Regions from separate parts of the Homo sapiens genome. Here region 1 is linked to region 2. Evidence: promoter capture Hi-C in human tissues and cell types (Jung and others, 2019). All regions are on one chromosome and are shown on one strand. Each heading gives the region's core, a stretch centred on a gene start or on the middle of the fragment in contact. The rest is flanking DNA. Distances are from core to core; before and after follow the strand shown.

The links. Contacts are between HindIII fragments. The study calls those that stand out against the background at their distance.
Region 1: a fragment that was not itself captured here is called in contact with the fragment with the promoter of CACNG6 in region 2 in 1 of the 25 tissues and cell types used here (liver).

The regions. Positions count from the first base shown.
Region 1 is chr19:53,859,084-53,862,180 of GRCh38, forward strand. The region is part of intron 1 of MYADM-AS1 (MYADM antisense RNA 1); the gene reads right to left. Among named protein-coding and RNA genes, the nearest start is that of MYADM, 7.3 kb to the right of the region's middle. The HindIII fragment of the contact is 7,269 bases long and covers 1-3,097 here.
Region 2 is chr19:53,990,059-53,993,452 of GRCh38, forward strand. It overlaps CACNG6 (calcium voltage-gated channel auxiliary subunit gamma 6), which reads left to right and starts at 1,579. Exons shown (of 4, transcript NM_145814.2): 1 at 1,579-3,150. The coding sequence starts at 2,820. CACNG8 (calcium voltage-gated channel auxiliary subunit gamma 8) reads left to right here. Exons shown (of 4, transcript NM_031895.6): 4 at 1-157. The HindIII fragment of the contact is 43,229 bases long and covers 1-3,394 here.

The DNA of each region.
Region 1 (3,097 bases), core at 259-2,758, 130 kb before region 2:
ACCCCGGTGGGGAAGCCACCATTACCACCACCACCACTGGGCACTGCCCTCCTGACATTGACTAGTGACACCTTTGCCCTTGCCACTGTACTTTAATTTTCTTTCTTTCTTTTTTTGAGACAGAGTCTCACCCTGTTGCCCAGGCTTCAGTGCAGTGGTGCGATCATAGCTCACTGCAGAATTGAACCCACGGGCTAAAGAGATCCTCCTATCTCAGCCTCCCAAGTAGCTGGGACCACAGTTGTACATGACCACACCCAGCTAGTCAGTGTTTTTCTAAAAAAAAAATTCATAGAGCCAGCCGAGGTGGCTCATGCCTGTAATCCCAGCACTTTGGGAGGCCGAGGCAGGCGGATCACGAGGTCAGGAGTTTGAGACCAGCCTGGCCAAACCCTGTCTCTACTAAAAATACAAAAAAATTAGCTGGGCATGGTGGCCAGAGCCTGTAATCCCAGCTACTCAGGAGGCTGAGACAGGAGAATCGTTTGAACTCGGGAGGCATAGGTTGCAGTGAGCTGAGATCACACCACTATACTCCAGCCTGGGTGACAGAGCAAGACTCCATCTCAAAAAAAAAAAAAAAACCCAAAACCAAAAAACATAGATACTAAATTTTGTCAAATATTCTTTTAGCATATATAAGATGATCATACTGATTTTTTTTTTACTTTGTTAATATGATAAAGCTCATTAATGGTTTTTGAATATTAGCCATTCTGGGCTGGGCACAGTGGCTTACGGGTGGTTTTGGGAAACTGAGGCAGGAAAATTGCTTGAGCCCGGGAGTTCAAGACCAGCCTGGGCAACATGGCAAAACCCTGTCTTTACTAAAAACACCATGCTGGGCATAGTGGTACACACCTGTATTCCCAGCTACTCAGAAGGCTGTGGAGGGAGGATCGCTTGAGGCCGGGAGGTTGAGGCTGTAGTGAGCTGTGATCACGCCACTGTGATCACGCCTCTGCACTCCAGCCTAGGAGACCCAGAGAGACTCTGTCTCAAAAAAAAAAAGAAAAAGAAAAAGAAAAAGAAAAAAAAGCCATTTTGGCATTTCTGGAATAAACCCCAGTTGGTCACAATGTATTTTTTTTTACTCTACCGCTGGAGTCTGAATGCTAATACAGGCTGACACACTCCAAAACCCAGAGCTCTATTCTGAGCCTAAGGAGTCCACACGAAATGAAGGCTGTGCTACCGTGCCATAGCCACAAAGAGCACTTGAAACCTGGCTAGTGAGACTGAGAAACCGAATTTTAAATTTTATTATTATTATTATTATTTATTGAGACGGAGTTTCGCTCTGGTTGCCCAGGCTGGAGTGCAATGGCGCGATCTTGGCTCACTGCAACCTCTGCCTCCCGGGTTCAAGCGATTCTCCTGCCTTAGCCTCCTGAGTAGCTGGGATTACAGGCAGGCATCACCACGCCCAGGTAATTTTGTATTTTTAGTAGAGCCGCGGTTTCTCCATGTTGGTCAGGCTGGTCTCACACTCCCGACCTCAGGTGATCCGCCCGCCTCGGCCTCTCAATGTGCTGGGATTACAGGCGTAAGGCCCCCGCCCGGTCTATTATTATTATTATTATTATTATTATTATTATTATTGAGACAGAGTCTCGCTCTGTCGCCTAGGCTGGAGTGCAGTGGCGTGATCTCTGCTCACTGCAATCTCTGCCTCCTGGGTTCAAGTGATTCTCCCACCTCAGCCTCCTGAGTAGCTGGGACTACAGGCATGAGCCTCCACATCTGGTTAATTTTTGTATTTTTATTAGAGATGGGGTTTCATTATGTTGGCCAGGCTGGTCTCGAACTCCTGACCTCAAGAGATCTGCCCGCCTCAGCCTCCCAAAGTGCTGGGATTACAGGCATGAGCCACCGCGCCCAGCCAATAGAGTTTATTTTTAAAAGCATTTTTAGGTTCACATAAAAATTGAGCAGAAGGTACAGAGATTTCCCTGTCCCCACACATGCACAGCCTCCCCAACTACCACCATCCCCAGCTAGTGGTAGATTTGTTACAGTGGATGAACCTCCGCTGATTTGACATGTCATCTTCACCCAGGGTCCACGGTTTACACTGGGGTTCACTTGGTGTCATAGAATCTATAGGTTCATACAAATGTATAATAATCAGTATTTACCACTATGGTGTCATAATACAGTTTCATTCTCCTAAAATATCTCTTACTCTGCCTATTCATTGCAACCCCAACTCTCCTGACTTTTTTCTTATTTTTTTTTTAAACTTTTTAAAAATGTTGCTACTACTTCTTTGGGAGACTGAGGCAGGTGGATCGCTTGAACTCAGGAGTTCAAGACCCGTCTTCGTAACTGAGTGAGAACCAGTCTCTACCAAAAAAAAAAAAAAAAAAAAAATTAGCCTGGCATGGTGGCGAGCACCTGTAGTCCCAGCTACTCTGGAGGCTGAGGCAGGAGGATTGCTTGAGCTCTGGACGTCGAGGCTGCAGTGAGCCGAGATCACGCCACTGCACTACTCCAGCCTGGGCGGCAGAGCGAGACCCTGTTTCAAAAAAAAAAAAAAAAAGGAAGCAGAAATGCATTCACAGGCTTTGCTGCTAGGTGGTTATTATTTTTTGTTTGTTTGTTTGTTTTTTGAGAGAGAGTCTCAGTCACTCTGTCGCCCAGGCTGGAATGCAGTGGTGTGATCTCAGGTCACTGCAAACTCTGACTCCCAGGTTCAAGTAATTCTTCTGCCTCATCCTCCTGAGTAGCTGGGATTACAGGCATGCACCACCATACCTGGCTAATTTTTGTATTTTTAGTAGAGACAGGGTTTCACCATGTTGGCCAGGCTGGTCTTGAACTCCTGGCCTCAAGTGATCCGCCTGCCTCAACCTCGCAAAGTACTGGGATAACAGGCGTGAACCACTGCACCTGGCCAATCACTACTTTGTGTGTCCAGAAAATTTTCTTCCTCCTAAAAAGAAATCTTCTACACTTGTATCATCCCCATCCCTTGAGTGTGGGAGGAACGTGTTACTTTCTTCTAACCAATACGGCATGGCAAAGGTGGTGCTTATATGTTGTAGAAGATTTCTTGCTAGCTGACACACCCTAGAGTCTCTCATCACTGACTTTG
Region 2 (3,394 bases), core at 329-2,828:
CCGTCCACAGAAGGGCTGAGGGGTAGGGGGTGAGGGGTTGAAGATCAGGCCCTGCCGCCATGCCACACGGCTGTCCTCTGTCCCTGCTCCTGGGGGAGCTGAAACTGCATGGAAGGTCCCCCAGGGGTGCCCCGTCTAATAAACTCGATGAAGAGGAGTGCTGCTTTCATTCTGTGCCCCTGACAGCCGGCCCTGCCCTGAGGCCTGCGCTTTCTCCAACATGGAAATCAGGCCTTCCATCCTTCAAGACCCAGGGTTCTGGCCCCAGTCTCCTCCCTGAGGCCCAGGACTCTGGGTCTGCCAACGCCTTGACCAGGAGTCCAGGCTCCCCGGCCCTCCTCCTCCCTCAGACCCAGGAGTCCAGGCCCAGCCCCTCCTCCCTCAGATCCAGGAGTCCAGGCCCCCTGCCCCCTCCTCCCTCAGACCCAGGAGTCCAGGCCCAGGCCTTCCTCCCTCAGACCCAGGAGCCCAGGCCCCCAGCCCCTCCTCCCTCAGACCCAGGAGCCCAGGCCCCCAGCCCCTCCTCCCTCAGACCCAGGAGCCCAGGCCCCCAGCCCCTCCTCCCTCAGACCCAGGAGTCCAGGCCCCCAGCCCCTCCTCCTTCAGACCCAGGAGTTCAGGCCCCAGTCCCTCCTCCCTCAGACCCAGAAGTCCAGGCCCCCAGCCCCTCCTCCCTCAGACTCAGGAGCCCAGGCCCCCAGCCCCTCCTCCCTCAGACCCAGGAGTCCAGGCCCCAGCCCCTCCTCCCTCAGACCCAGGAGTCCAGACCCCCAGCCCCTCCTCCCTCAGACCCAGGAGCCCAGGCCCCCAACCCCTCCTCCCTCAGACCCAGGAGTCCAGGCCCCCAGCCCCTCCTCCCTCAGACCCAGGAGTCCAGGCCCCCAGCCCCTCCTCCTTCAGACCCAGGAGTTCAGGCCCCAGTCCCTCCTCCCTCAGACCCAGAAGTCCAGGCCCCAGTCCCTCCTCCCTCAGACTCAGGAGCCCAGGCCCAGCCCCTCCTCCCTCAGACCCAGGAGTCCAGACCCCAGCCCCTCCTCCCTCAGACCCAGGAGTTCAGGCCCCCAGCCCCTCCTCCCTCAGACTCAGGAGCCCAGGACCTAGGAGACCAGGTTCCTCTCCTCTCAGATCCAAGATTCTGGGTACCCAGGCCTTCTTCCTCTACCACTCAGAAGTGGGGTACCGAGGCTTCTTCTCCCTTAGGGACCCAAGACTCCTGGCCTCAGGCCCTCCTCCCTGAGACCCGGGGCCCTGCCTCCCGCCCCTCCTCCCTGGTAACCCCAGTCAGACTTGCTGCCCCGCCCGTCTCCTGCTGCCCGGGAGACTGCGGAGCTGGGACTCTCGGCGCCGCTCTTGCCCCTTAGTGAAATGAAAGTCCCATCAGGCTCGGCCCCTTCCTCCCCGGGCGGCCTCCCTCCCCCCTTCCTCGTCCCCTTAAAACACCCGGGATCCCTATGGCAACAGGCGCCGGGCGACAGGTGCGGGTGTTATTTACGGGTCAAGCCCGAAATAGCCCCGAGGGTGGAGGGTGGAGGGTGGGGGGTGGGCGGGTGGGGACGAGGCCGGGCGCGGGCGGAGGCCAGGCCGGTGGCGGTGGCGGGCACAGCCGGACGCTTCGGAGGCAGCGCGGAGCTGGGGTCGGCGCGGGGCCGAGGCAGGAGAGCGAGAGGGGCCCCTGCTCGGGAGTCGGGGGTGGGAGCCCCGAGGGGGGGCCCTGGCCTGGGGCTGAGCCTGGCGCGAACCCGACCGGGAAGGCCCTGGGAGCCCGGGGGAGGGAGACGGACTGATCCCGAAGGGGCGCAGCGTCTCTTGCGGGTCGCGGTTGGCCTTTGAACCCTGGGGGGACTCAGTCCTGGTTTTCCGAGCCGCAGTGCGGACCACAGCCCCATAGTGTGAGCCCCAGGAGGGCCCCCGGTCCCATCTGCCCCAGCCCTCGGGGAGGCCCCGTAGCCTCCCGCCTCTGGACTCCACTCTGTCTTCCGGCCACCGGCCCCTTTTCCAGGCTCAGTAGAGACCTCGGATCTTTTCTGAATGGCAGGGGAGACCCCTATCCCCTTTTCCTGAATTCCAGCGAGGCCCAGTCCTCTTCTGAGCCCCAGCCAGGGCTCTGTTCTTCTCCTTCTGTGGATGCCGGGGTCCTACTGCCTCTCTTGAGACCCGGATTGAATTCCGACCTCCCCTTGGGAGCTTCCCGGGACCCCAGGTCTTCCTTTTCCGAATCCCAGAGGGTCCCCAAGTCCTCTGTTCTCAAACTCTGAGCCCAAGGGAACCCCGGCCACATCTCCTCCAAACACACACAGGACCTCAGGTCCCTTCCTGGGTACCCCAAACTCTTAGCCCTAGTGGGGTGCTCAGATCTCTCAGGAAAACCAGTTTCCCTTTTGTTAACCCCCCAGCGGGGACCCCAAAGCAGCCCCTTGGAGCTGCAGGGAGCTTCAGCGGGCACCAGTTCTCATTCCTCTGGAGCTCTTGGGGGGACTCCCTCCTGGGAAGCCGAATTCTATCTCTAAACCTCAGGGTGGGGGCCTTGTTTTTCCTCTGGGCCCCGTCTTCTTTGCCAAGTTCTTGAGGGCAACCTAGACCCTCCTCTGAACCCCAGAGGCTTCCCCAGCCCTGGGGATCATTTTTCTCTTCTGAACCCCAGAAGCAATCTCGACTTTCGCATTTGAGATTCCAGACAGGACTCGGCTCTCCCTCTTTCATACCCAGGGGAAACTGAGTCCCTCACCCCCTTCAAGACCCCAGGCCGCTCCTCGCTCCCGCCCCTCGAGGCCCTTCGCCGGCTCTGCCTCCTCCCCCTTCCCGACCCCACCGGCCATAAGATGATGTGGTCCAACTTCTTCCTGCAAGAGGAGAACCGGCGGCGGGGGGCCGCGGGCCGGCGGCGGGCGCACGGGCAGGGCAGGTCGGGGCTGACGCCCGAGCGCGAGGGGAAGGTGAAGCTGGCGCTGCTGCTGGCCGCCGTGGGCGCCACGCTGGCGGTGCTGTCCGTGGGCACCGAGTTCTGGGTGGAGCTCAACACCTACAAGGCCAACGGCAGCGCCGTGTGCGAAGCGGCCCACCTGGGGCTGTGGAAGGCGTGCACCAAGCGGCTGTGGCAGGCGGACGTGCCCGTGGACAGGGACACCTGCGGCCCCGCGGAGCTGCCCGGAGGTGAGCAGCCGCCGCCCCGAGCGCAGGGCTTGCGTCCCACGGACAGGGAGGGAGAGGGGCCCGTGTCCGAGGAGAAAACCCGCCCCAGGGACAAAAGCCTGAGCCCGGAGGAGACAGCTTGCCTCGCAGTAAGCGCCAGTGCCCACTTCGTCCTCTGCTCTCAGAAACTGCTGAGAGATAGAGGGATCCCCCAGATATGGCCCAGGTCCCTCACGGGCCTACCGCCAGAGAACCTGTGCCTTAG